4 separate regions of the Homo sapiens genome follow, and all the other regions are linked to region 1. Evidence: promoter capture Hi-C in 16 types of primary human blood cells and fetal thymus (Javierre and others, 2016). All regions are on one chromosome and are shown on one strand. The core of a region is centred on a gene start or on the middle of the fragment in contact, and the rest is flanking DNA. Distances in the headings are between cores, read along the strand shown. Region 1 holds the start of IFFO2 (intermediate filament family orphan 2). Region 2 overlaps PAX7 (paired box 7). Region 3 overlaps EMC1 (ER membrane protein complex subunit 1). Region 4 overlaps PAX7 (paired box 7).

What was found. The method cuts DNA at HindIII sites, captures the fragments that hold promoters and counts their contacts. A CHiCAGO score of 5 or more calls a contact.
Region 2: a fragment that was not itself captured here is called in contact with the fragment with the promoter of IFFO2 in region 1 in 1 of 17 cell types (fetal thymus); the score reaches 6.0 in fetal thymus.
Region 3: a fragment that was not itself captured here is called in contact with the fragment with the promoter of IFFO2 in region 1 in 3 of 17 cell types (fetal thymus, activated CD4 T cells and megakaryocytes); the score reaches 7.4 in fetal thymus.
Region 4: a fragment that was not itself captured here is called in contact with the fragment with the promoter of IFFO2 in region 1 in 1 of 17 cell types (fetal thymus); the score reaches 8.8 in fetal thymus.

What each region holds. Positions count from the first base shown.
Region 1 is chr1:18,955,406-18,958,281 of GRCh38, forward strand. It overlaps IFFO2 (intermediate filament family orphan 2), which reads right to left and starts at 1,271. Exons shown (of 9, transcript NM_001136265.2): 1 at 263-1,271. The coding sequence starts at 927. RefSeq lists silencers at 24-213, 454-713, 1,284-1,453. The HindIII fragment of the contact is 3,069 bases long and covers 1-2,636 here.
Region 2 is chr1:18,658,725-18,661,428 of GRCh38, forward strand. All of the region lies in intron 4 of PAX7 (paired box 7), which reads left to right. Among named protein-coding and RNA genes, the nearest start is that of PAX7, 29 kb to the left of the region's middle. The HindIII fragment of the contact is 3,395 bases long and covers 1-2,704 here.
Region 3 is chr1:19,236,697-19,239,612 of GRCh38, forward strand. EMC1 (ER membrane protein complex subunit 1) reads right to left here. Exons shown (of 23, transcript NM_015047.3): 9 at 2,535-2,606; 10 at 2,099-2,161; 11 at 1,321-1,443; 12 at 446-542. The region is part of intron 1 of EMC1-AS1 (EMC1 antisense RNA 1); the gene reads left to right. Among named protein-coding and RNA genes, the nearest start is that of EMC1, 13 kb to the right of the region's middle. The HindIII fragment of the contact is 1,117 bases long and covers 1,109-2,225 here.
Region 4 is chr1:18,636,654-18,639,812 of GRCh38, forward strand. The region is part of intron 4 of PAX7 (paired box 7); the gene reads left to right. Among named protein-coding and RNA genes, the nearest start is that of PAX7, 7.4 kb to the left of the region's middle. RefSeq lists enhancers at 1-531, 532-1,149. The HindIII fragment of the contact is 1,981 bases long and covers 859-2,839 here.

The DNA.
Region 1 (2,876 bases), core at 21-2,520:
ACAGTTATTATGTCACCTAGAAAACAATGTGCCTCACCAGTGACAGCATCGAGGTGGCCCCCACGGTAGCCAGCGCCCGCCCCCATCCTGGGATCTAGATAACTGGGCCTTCCTGGCGTACGTAAGACGCTCTGCAAACACAGCTTCCAGCCCACCTGCCAGTACCAGCTGCCCGCCCGGCCCCCGTCCCGCATACGCATTCCGCGGCAGCCTGGACCTGGGCGCCCCGTCCCAGGGCGGCGGGGGAGGGGCGGCCACTCACCTCCGCTTATACTCGTCGCGCTCGCGCTTCACCTTGGCCAGCACGTTGTAGAGCGCGCGGATCTCCGGCGTGATGGTGTCGATCTGCACGCCCACGCCGTCGGGGTGCACCCACGACACGCCGGGGCCCTGCACGGTCTCCACGCCGCCGCCGCCCGTGCGCCGCACCTGCGTGTAGCTCCAGATGGTCCCGGGCAGGCGGCCGTAGTGCTGCGGGTGCGAGCCGCCGCCGGGGGGCAGGCCGCCCAGGGCCACGGCATTGGCGTTGGCGCCGGCCGCCGCGCCACTGCTGAGGCCGTGCCCGCCGCCGGGCGCCGGGGGCCGCAGCAACTCGGGCCCGGTCTGCACGGCCTGCTCGCGGGAGAAGGTCTTGTAGCGCAGCCGCCGCTCGCGCTCGCTCTGCTGCTGCTCCAGCTGCTTCTCCAGCAGCCGGTTGCGCCGCTCCAGCTCGTGCACCTTAGCCAGGAAGCAGCGGAAGCGCACGTTGAGCCCCTTCAAGAGGTGGATGTTGGAGCCCAGGTCGTCCCGCAGCGCCGCCGTCACCGGCGACGGACCCGGCCCTGCCCCGCCGCCGCCGCCGCCCCCGCCAGGGCAGCCCCCGCCGCCGCCGCCCGGCGGGCAGCCGAAGGCCAAGGCCATCTCCCCGAACAGCAGCGAGTTCACCATGCGCCGGCTGCGCGGCTCAGGGCCCCGGGCCCGCGGCTCCAGGTGCGGCTCCAGCTCCGGGCAGGGCTCCCGGCGCGGCCGGGCCAGGGTGGGCGCGGGCTCCAGCGCGGCCGGCCGGGCGGTTCCAGATGCGCGCCAGATGCGGCCTCCGCAGAGACGGCAGGACGGATGGCCCCGGATGCGGGCGCCGAGGCGAGAGAGGGCACTCGGCCGCTCCTCGGGACGCGGTGGAGGCCGCGGTATCTGCGCGGGGCCAGAAGGGTCGCGGGTCTCACCGCCCGGGCTGTCAGAGACGCTGTGGAGGGGCCGCGGCAGCCGCACGCAGAGGACTCTCGGCCGGCACTGCCCCTTCTGCGGCGGGCCCCGCCCACTGCAGACACTGGCCCCGCCCCCGCCGCGGCCCCGCCCACCCCTCCTCCCTCTGCGGCGTTCCCCGAGCCCGAGGCTCCGCCCCACGAGGCCCGCAGCGCCGGGCCCCACCCACAGACCCTCGGCTCCGCCCACCTCCGGGTTCTCCCGCTTTCTCCGCAGCATAGACTCCGCCCAGCTCCCCGGCGGGGCCACGCCCTCTCCTGCGTCTGGTCCTGCCTCCCCGCCGGGTGCCGATTCTCTGCTGGGGGACCCGGACCGCAGAGCTGCACCAGGGACCGGGTTAGCTGGAACCGCCGCAGAGCCAGCCGGGCCTCTTAAAGGGGCCAGCAGCCTCGGCAACGCTCGCTTTCCACTTTTTAGGGCGCTCCTCTCCCACGTCGCCTGCCGAGAGGGCTCCGTTTCTCTGTCCTCTCTGCCCGCAATGCCCCTGGCCCCAAATTCCTTCGGATGTGCGCGACCGCGGCTGGAAGGGCTGGGGGACCACAGTATCCGAAGGTGCATCGGCACCCCACCCCCACTCTAGCCTGGGGAGGCCCAGATCGACCTTTCGGGGATAAGAGGGCGCCCGTGCCCCACGCTGCGGACCCGGGGGTGGGCTCCTCGAATGCTAGCTGCGGGCCTTGTCCTCTCGAGATCGGCCCGGGCACAGCTAAGCCCGCTGGTTCCCCCGCCCACTGAGGAGCCGAGCAGCATGGGGGTTGGGGAGGCCGAGCAAGACCCTCCCGGGATGACACCCACAAACTCGGCCTGGGCCTCGCCTCTGCTGAGCTGCTCAGCACCTCCCCACCACCCACACCCACACGCTGAGATGAAGCTGACCCCGAGAGCTGGGGATTCATTTCACAGACATGGGGCTTAGCGGGCCGCCTGGGGCAGACCGAGGCAACCCGAGGACCCATTCATTCATTCATTCATTCATTCAAATGTTTTCACACCTACCACGTTAAAGGCCAAGTTCTCCAGTCTCTGGTGTCTCCTGAACCGTGTTGCAAACATTAGTATATGTCAGGCGCCATACTTATTTATTATCCCCATTTTACAGAGAAGGTCACTGAGACGTTAAGTAGCCACAATGGTCCAAAGTGCATGCTCTAACCGGCCTTCCACAATGCTGGCCTCGGGCCTCGTGTCCATTTCCGCATTTGGTCCTCACCGCAAACCTCAGAGGGGAGGTGACCCCCACCTTGAACCCCCACCTTTGAACGCCTGTGGCTTGCATTGTATGCACTTAACCAGATATGTGGCATGTTTCAGATACTTCCGACTGCATTTTTTACTAGCAGTTTAATTTTTGTCTTGTTATTAACTTTTGTGTTTGTTTTGTCTCTTTGTATGTAAGCTTGAGGACAGGCACACTGTCTTACATGGACAATGCCTTGGTGTTCTTGGTGACAAAGGAGACACGGGCTTGCCCTGGAGTGATGTGGCTGTGATGTTAGTCTGCTGTGTTTTTGATTTAGCCACAAAAGCAAACCTTCCCCATAGTTCCTTCCCTCAACCACAGTTCCTTGCTTCCTGCCAACACGGACTCACCTTAAACACCCAGCTCTGAAACTCACTCATCTAGAAACCTTTCT
Region 2 (2,704 bases), core at 88-2,587, 300 kb before region 1:
AAGGAAGGTTTGCTGGTAGAAGCCTGACCCCAAGGACACGTGGCTGGGCAAGGTTGTAGGAGAGCTGGCTGGGGTTGACATTTCATAAACATGAAGTTGCCTTGGGAGAAACCTTTCTTCATTATCAATGCTAAGGGAACCCTTGCTCAAACAAGCCAGGGTTATGCAAAACTCCAAAATTTCCTTCATTTGAGCTGGAGAGTGTGTGTGCATATGTGTGTGTGCATGCACGTATATGTGTGTGTGTACACATATGTATGTGTGTGTTGTGTGTGCATGCATGTGTAATGTGTGCATGCCTGTATGTATATGTGTGTGCATATGTATTTGTGTGCATGCATGTGACTGTGTGCACATAAGCATGTGTGTGACATGTGTGTGTATGTGTGTGTCTGTGTGTGTACTGCAGATTCACTGTCCTAGTGAGTTTTGTTCTGTGTTTTCAGCTCCTGCACCAGATTAGGACCTTCTTTGAGAGCAAGGACCAGTCAACTACATTTTATTCTGCTTTGATCTCACCTATTTAGTGCCAGTGCAATACCATATGCAGAACAGGTGCTCAATAAATGCTCCCTAACTTGAGAACTTCTCTGAGACACCTGAGCAGGAAAGGGGAGGGGGCAGCCAGGCCTCTGCTGAGAATTGAAGGCAAGGCTTTCCCTCCCCCTCCTTTCCACTTCTCTTCCTCCCTCTCTCCCAATCCCACATCTGTCTTAATTTGGGTGCTACTGAGGGGGCCTGAAAAGGGAGTGTCCCTAATGATCATGGTGTAGAGAATTCCACCCATGCCATTTACCTTCACCTTCTAAGGAGCTTCCCTGCTAGCAGGGCCAGGGAGGTCATTTGTACTCACCTTCCCTGGTGGTTTTTCCCCTGGGGAAAGAGAGAGTGGAAAGGAAAGGACCTTAGGCAAGTAGCCAGGTGGAGGGAAAACTGCTCTTGCCTGAGAGGTGGGAACCCTGCCTCTGAGTCCTGGTAGCAGGCAACTGTCCCATTTGGCCTGGGACTTTCCTGGTTTTCCCACTGAGGGTCCCACATTCCAGAAAAGCCTTCAGTCCCAGGCAGACTGGGATTGTTGCTCACCCTACCCCCTGGCGTGTAAGGATCAATCCCGTAGGTCCGTGGGGCTCAGGTACCTGTCACAAGGAACGGCCTCAACCTCCTCCCACCTTTGTTAAGGAATGGGTTGGAAGGGAAGAGTGACTGCAAAAGAATTGGGAAAAGCCCAGCGGGCCATGTGCTCGAGGACCTTACCCTTCGGCATCTGCCCCTTGCGTGGGGTGGTTGAGGGGAAGCATGGATGTAGGAGGTCGGAATTCGTCCACGTTTGTGGGTAGAATTGGAGCCCAGTGGCTGGAGCCTGGGGTGTCCTCCTTATCAACGCTCCCAAATTGGAGCCTCTGTCAGGGGAGGGGCCCCTAGGATAGGGCCAAATGGGCCTCCCATTTGGAGCTTGGCTCTTTGACTTAGACCAACTCAAGTTCGAATCCTGGCTCTGCCACTTGCTGGCTGGGAGGTTTTGGCCAAGTCATCCCCCTACCTGTGGAAGACAGGTGACACCACTCCAACCCAACTCTGCCCAGGACACAGCAGGCCTCTGACACACGCCACATTCTTCTCTTCCTTTCTGCTCTTCTCTTCCCCTAGACACCTTATTTTTTCTGGCTTAAGGACAAAATTAGGAGGGAGGAAAACGGAAAATCCAGATGCCAAGTCCTTCCAGGGAAACCAAAGTGGGGGATGATTGAGGCCTGGGAGGTGGAGGGAGGGTTGTTGTGGAGTCATCATAATTTAAGAAATCTGCCTCCCTTCCACGCCCCAAGATGAGCATTACTATTTCATGGATGATTCAAGTCTAACTTCCCCCTAGGAAGGGCTGTGACCCCTGACCCCTGCAACCTGTATTTACCACGTTCAAAAGCCCCTACTAGCCCCAGAGAGCTGACCTGAGCTGGGACCAAGGCACCAGGACTGGCAGGGCTATAAACAAGCCTGCCTCCTTGGGCTCAGGAATCCTGAGTGAAAAAACAGAAGGGGGCTCAGAGGTGGGGCCCAGTCCTGGCCTGTGAGCCAGCGGCTAAAGGGAGGGGAGAGAGGACTCACGGGGGTGGGGGACCTGGAGGATGAGTTAGGGGAGAAATGGGCACATAAGGAGCTATTTCCTCCCCTTGACCCTCGGTTTTCTTGGCTGTAAAATGGAGCAAAAGCTACTTTGCTCGTTAGGGTTTTGTAAGGCTGAAGTGAAATAGTGAGTGTAAGGGCTTCAGAGTGCTAGAGGGGAAAGTAAAAAGCACACACGCATGCTAGAGCAGGGGGCATAGAATAGGGAGGGGGCCAAAGCATGGAGGATTAGACAGTTGACACGTGGTTGTTAGATGATCAGTAAATCTCTGTTGAGAAATAAATACCCAGAGCTTGGCTGAAACAGAACAACGTGGGTCCATCCCTGCCCTCAGAGGCCCCCTTGCTTGGTGGGGTAGACAGGCAAACAGATATCCCTCCCTTCAGTGTAAGGGTTGCCATGAGGAGTAGGGGGCATAGGGGCTGTGGGAGAGTCCCGCTTTGGGGTCCATGAGGTGGAAATGAATTCGTCTTTATTTTTTCAAACTCACATTTCCTGTGCCTCTTTGCAGAAACTTTCTGATCTCTCCTCCCACCCCAAACTTGCCTTTGGTGTGTCCACGTCTCTTGGATTAGACTTTAA
Region 3 (2,916 bases), core at 417-2,916, 280 kb after region 1:
GTGGCTCACACCTGTAATCCCAGCACTTTGGGAGGCCGAGGCAGGCGGATCACTTGAGGTCAGGAATTCGAGACCAGCCTGGCCAACATGGGGAAACCCTGTCTCTACTGAAAATACAAAAATTAGCTGGTCGTGGTGGCACACGCCTGTAATCCCAGCTACTCAGGAGGCTGAGGCAGGAGAATCGCTTGAATCCGAAAGGTGGAGATTGCAGTGGGCCGAGATCATGCCACTGCACTCCAGCCTGGGCAAGAGAGCAAGACTCTATCTCAAAAAAAAAAAAAAAAAAAAAAAAGCAGGTGACATTTGGCTATGAACGAAACACTCAGGGCACACTCCACTTGAATCTCTTCCAGAAACCTGCAGCCTCCCAAAAAACAGTCTGATTGGAACACATTGGAAGGCCTGGGGAAATAAAAAAATGGGTTGAATGAGGTCTACTTACCCAACTGCTGCAGGAAAAGTAGCAGATGATCCTCTGTCTGCACCAAAGCCCGGTAGCCCACTGAGTCATCCTTCTTCAAGAACACCTGGATATACAGCTATAAGCCACAGTCAAGACCGGTGTAGTCAGTGAGGATCCAAATGCCTCTGAGAGCACCAGACCCCAGGAGTCAAAGCCTGGACTTAACAGAGGTACAGGCCATGGCATTATTTGATGTCTAAACAATGTAGCTATTATCTGGATGCCAGTAAGTGATACATATTCTTAGGAGCCAACATAATGATGCTGGGGTCTCCCAGACCTTTCCATGGAAGAACCTGAGTACTCCACGGGTACCACGCCATTCATCCATGCTCTAATCACACCCCACAAAGTGAGCAGGAGGCCGGGATTAGACTTTCCGCTTTAGAAACGAAGAAGCCACAGCCCAAGCAGCTGAGGAACACAACCAGATGCACACAGAGGCAATACTGGGTAGTGATGAGGAGTCCAGGCTGTGGGGTTAGACCTGAATCTGAACCGCAGTGACACCTCTTACTGGCTCCGTGACTCTGGCTATGGTACTCGATCCCACCAGGCCACAGAATCATTTTAAAACCAGGTCAGGAACAACCGCTTCATGAGAGTGTTTGGAGGGTTAAATCAATTAATGTGTAAGTTAAAAGCTTAGAACAGTCCCTGGTGCACAATGATGAGCTGGCATAAATAATACCCGCCTTTACTGTGACTTCTAACAAGTCAGTGGCTCAGAGAGCACTAGAACACATGTTTAGAGAGCCTAATCCAAGCCCCATGGCTAAGACCTGGCCCTGAGGAAAGGAAGCCATGTGCTGAGAAGCCCACAGGACAGTCTGCAAAGAAAGGCTCTGCCTTACCCGCTCAGGCCGAGTGCCGCTCTGTTCCAGGCTAAATGTTATCGTGGTGTCCAGCAGCCGCCGACCTGTCTCCACGAGGTATAGGTTAATGGTGTAGGTCTGATTGAAGCAAGCCAGAGAGTCCTAGGAGTACAGACAGCACGTGTCAACTACAGGTATCCCCCGAAAGCAAAGCCCACCAAAGGAAGTCCAAGGATTGGGGGCAAATACCCTAGAGAAGGAGCCAGGCCAGAAGGGGAAATATATGCAAAGGAGAATAAAAGAGAAAAGCAAGCTAAATCCTAAGGCAGAAATAAGGTGCCTGAGTAAATAAATGAAATTACAACTACCATACTTGTCTTGGAAGCCAGTACAGAGTAGCAGAGACTTCTGAGAGAGAGGTAGGGCTGAGCAAGGTAAGACTGAGCAAGACAGGAGGCAGGGAAACGCTTAGATGGAAGCCACAGCAGGAACCTATGCCTCCAGCCAGGGGCTCATGCCTCTGCTACAGGGTAACTGCACAGAGTACTACTCAACTGTGCCAGCCAGGATCCCAAAAGAAATGGGGACGCTGAGGCCCAGAGGAGAAAGTGGCTAGAAACAGACTCTAGGGATTCTACCTCCTAATCTCCCGGTAAAATGAGATTAAGAGAAACATCATTTAATTTACAGTACTTAGGAAACCTCATTTGAAGCTGGGAACTCTAGGACCTGCTCCTAACCAAAGCTCTTCCCCCAACTCTCTTTGGTGGCCTCCTGCGTCTCTAGGTCTGGCATACTGCCCAGTGCCACACCATACCTTTGAACTAGACTTCTCCGAAAAGCTCCCCATTGACCCATCTTCAGAACTGCTACTTTTCTGCTATGAGAAAGAGAAGGACAGGAGAAAATTCAGCCAAAGGGTCACTTCCCAGTCACTGAAATGAAGCTTTTGTTTTTGTCTTCTTAGCACTTGAGAGAAGACAAAGCTCATTTCTCACCCCTGCCCACAAAGCCTATTCAACCCTTAATAGCCCCATATGAAAGTAAGGTCATCACATTAGGGTCTCGTTCCTGGGGAGAAATGGGGTGTGCAGAAAGCTCTATAGTTGAGGCAAGACCTCACTTCTCAACAGCCTCCTGCCCGCTGGGTTCAAACTGACCAGGTCAATGTGCCCAGACTTCTGATTTTCAGGGTTCCTAGTGGAGACCAGGAAGGAAAATCCCAAGTGCTGACTGTTGTTCTCAATACTCACCACTTCATTCCGACAGGCCATGACTGCAGCCACCGTCTTCTCCCCAGTGGTGGCAAAGCTCACTAGGGCAGTCTGGGGGAAAAGCAAGGCATCAGCTCCTAAATGGGACCAGTACTAGCCAGCTGCCTTACAGAGGGTCACCTCTCCAGGGAAGGCCCTTGGCCTTAGAGTTGAAAGTGCTCCCCACTTTGGAGCAGAATGGTCAGGCATTTAAGAGCAGAGGGAGGCCTCAGTTGCATCTACAGCTGAAAACAGAACTCTCCCTACCTCCAACGCAGGCACAGGTCAATCTTAAATCCCATGCTGCTTGTTCTTACTATCTATGGGGAAGCTCTCATTTATGTCCCCATATTTCCTTTGGACTAAGGAAGGCACTAGTTTT
Region 4 (3,159 bases), core at 599-3,098, 320 kb before region 1:
GCCTGGTCTACCCCAATACTGCGGGGAGTGCGTCCTCCCGGGCTGGCGTTTTGGCTGCTACTCTCGGCGTCGATCAATTATTTATAGGAAACTTGGGCAAGGGGGCGGGGGACGGGAGGGAGGGAGAGAGGAAGGAGGAGCCGGCCCGCGGCTCCCTAAATGAATTTGTTAACCAGACCCCCACACGCTCTCTAAACGGTCCCTTGAAACCCCGCCTGACAGTTGACTGACCGCTGCAATCAATAAAAATTAGCCAGGGCCGCCGCCTGACTCAGCCCCGCGTTGCCAGGGCGGACTGGGGGACAGAGAGTGCCTTCCTCTGTGGCGTGCGCCGGCAGGGCTGGGAGTGGAGGCCAAGTTCCCAGATGCCCAGGGTCGGAGGATCGCAGTGGGGGAGAGACCCAGGCTCCACACACCCTCTCCCCATTCTTAGCACGGCTTCCGCGGGCAGGCTGGAGTCTGAGTCCTGCGCCATGCTTTTTCTCAGGATCAGCTAAGGAGGGCGTTTAGTTTTCAAGCGCCCGGAAGCCCGGGAAAGGGGATTGTGCTTTTGTTTCTTGACGGGAGGAAGTTTCGAGAGAAGGAAGGGAAAGTTTTTCCTCATTACCCCCTCCCCTTCCTCATTGCCCTCATAATTCCCCTCCTAAGTCTCTTTGAGACTTGGTAAGTGCACGTTAAGGGGCGACAGGGAGAGAAACAGAAATGGAAGACCCAGAGTCACAAAGACTGACAGTTAAAGAAAAGGCCCCAAACACATACGCGGAGAGGCGGCAGGCTGAGGGAATCGGAAAGACAGTGGCCATGGGAACCCGCAGACTGATGGCTTTGGAAAAAGTGGCGAGTGCCCTGGAACCTGAAAGCTTGCAAAAAGCCAGTGTTGTTTCAGTCTCCCTTCAGAGGTTTCTCCCAGCACCCCTCTCCTCACGACCCAAGCACTCCTAGCCCAGGTCTCTCTCCAGTTCTCAGAAGACCCTCCCAACCTTGAAGATGAACTTCACAGACAAAGCCGGCTTACTAAGACAACTCCCATCTACGCCCAGCCCCCACAGGCGTGGTCCGAGGAGGAAGGATGGGTGGCCGGGCAGCCCCGTGTGACAGCGGCCTGGAGCGAAGGGAAGGGGCGGCCATTGACAGACAGGGCCCCTAGTGATGCCGCAGTCCCGCCCGGGACAAAAGGGCGAGGGAAGAAAGGGAGCCAGCTGTGCCGGGCGCCCCGCTGTGCCCGGCCTGCCGAGGGGCCACGGGTCTGCGGCGGGAGGCAGCCCTGCACTGCCAAGCGGTCCTTGGCTAGGCCAGTCGGCCCAGAGCCCTGGGACACCTGCCGGGGGACCCAGTCCTTATTTCAGTTCCCATTGGAAGGAGACTAGATGGACTTTTTGTGGGTTGTGGAGGGGAGGCATAGAACTCGAATAATCTTTCCTGGACAAATAATCTTTCCTGCACAACAAACAACTCTTCTGAGGTTATCCCAGGGAGAAGCAGAGGAGGTTTGGTTTTCCTTGGAGAGACTTTAATTGTGTTTGCACGCAGGGAGTATATCCAGTTCAATCTGTGAGGAAGCACAAATAGGTAAATTTCCTCTGAGAAAAAAGGGAAGGGAAGGAAAGGAAGAGGATGGAAAGATCGTGCGGTTTGGAGGATTCCTCTGATTCCAGGGAATGCGGGGCGTTCCATGCTGGCCTGTGCTCACCACACCAGCTAACAAGCCACTTTGCTGGATAGAGGTTTTCCCTGCAGCAGAACCAGGAAGAACCACGTCTCCAAGGGTTTAAAGTGGAGCCTGTGCCAGATGGGGGAGGCTGAGGACACAGGTGCTAAGTCTAGAGGAGCTGAAGAAATGAAATGATCTTATGCAGTGAGCCTGGTCTCCAGAAAGTCCCGCAGTTTTTGCGTGACAGTGGGTGTGCTGGGTGCGCTGATTGTGCTTTGAATGGCTGTGTAAGCGCAAGCATCTCTTAGTGTGACTGTTTACCCACGGGCCTTCTGATCTGAATGCTGTAGGCCATATATCTGTGCAAATGGGATTCAGCATAGATGTGCAGGGAGTGTGTAGATGGGTGTGAATGGGCAATATGATGGTGCAGATGAGAGAGGGCCATCTATCCATCTGTGAGCAAATTGTATCCGTTTCCTATTTGAGTTCCTGGGCTGGTCGGCAGGCACCCCTGTGAACCCCTCATCTCTCTTCCAGGCCCCAGACATCAGTTTCATGTCCAAGTTAAAGGTGAAAAGACCTTCCAATCTCCATCCGAGTAATCCAGGTAGGGAGAGGCAGAGATGCCCCATGGCCAGAGCAGGGGGAGTTGTGCACACCCACAACTTTGTTTTGGCTTCTTGCTCTTGAAAAATGCTTTCTCTGGGGGAGTTGCCCCTCTCATGGCAGGGAGCCACCAAAGAAGGGGTTTAAGAGCTCTCCTCTTTAAGCACTAAAGAGAGATCCCTCCCTGAGTCCGTTTTTTCCTATCGTCCGCTTGGCATTTAATAATGTTAAGACTTATTAGAGCTGGTAATGAAAACTGGGACTGCTGAATAGGAAACTGTGTTGGAGAGGGGTGTAATAGCTTCCAGGCATGGTAAGAAACTATTTATCCGCAATCAGTTCTCACTCTCAGAGTTTGAAGCACAAACGTTAAGTTGAAGGGTTTTAAAGCAGATTAAATTGAGCTTTTATTTCTGTGCACTTTCATCTCTGAACAGCTCACTCCTGCTCCCCTTGGGCTGATATTCATGAGGCTGTTCATATTTTTTTTTTTGCTCTTATCCTTGTTAAGACTGAGTTATTAGGATTGTTGGTGGTGAGTATTCTCAGACCGTTGCCGATAGGTGCTTGCCCCAGTCAAGCTTGGCTCACCTGGAAAGGGAAGTGGACAGTTCCTTGCCCCCATGCACTTAGACTCCCTCCTCTTCACCCCTTTCTCCGAGGATCAGGGGATAGACAGGCCGGGGACCCAACAGGGAGGGGATTTGAGGAGAGAAGAGAAAGGAAAAGATTTTCATAGAATCTGAGCTCAGAGAGATTCTTGTGGGGAATTTGATAGGGGTTTGCAATGGGTCAAACCGTTCCTCAGTGGGAGCTGAGGGAGTGAGTGTGAAGAAATAAGCAATAGTATAAAAAACAATAACAGCAGTGACAAACAATAAGAACACCAAAGCCGCATG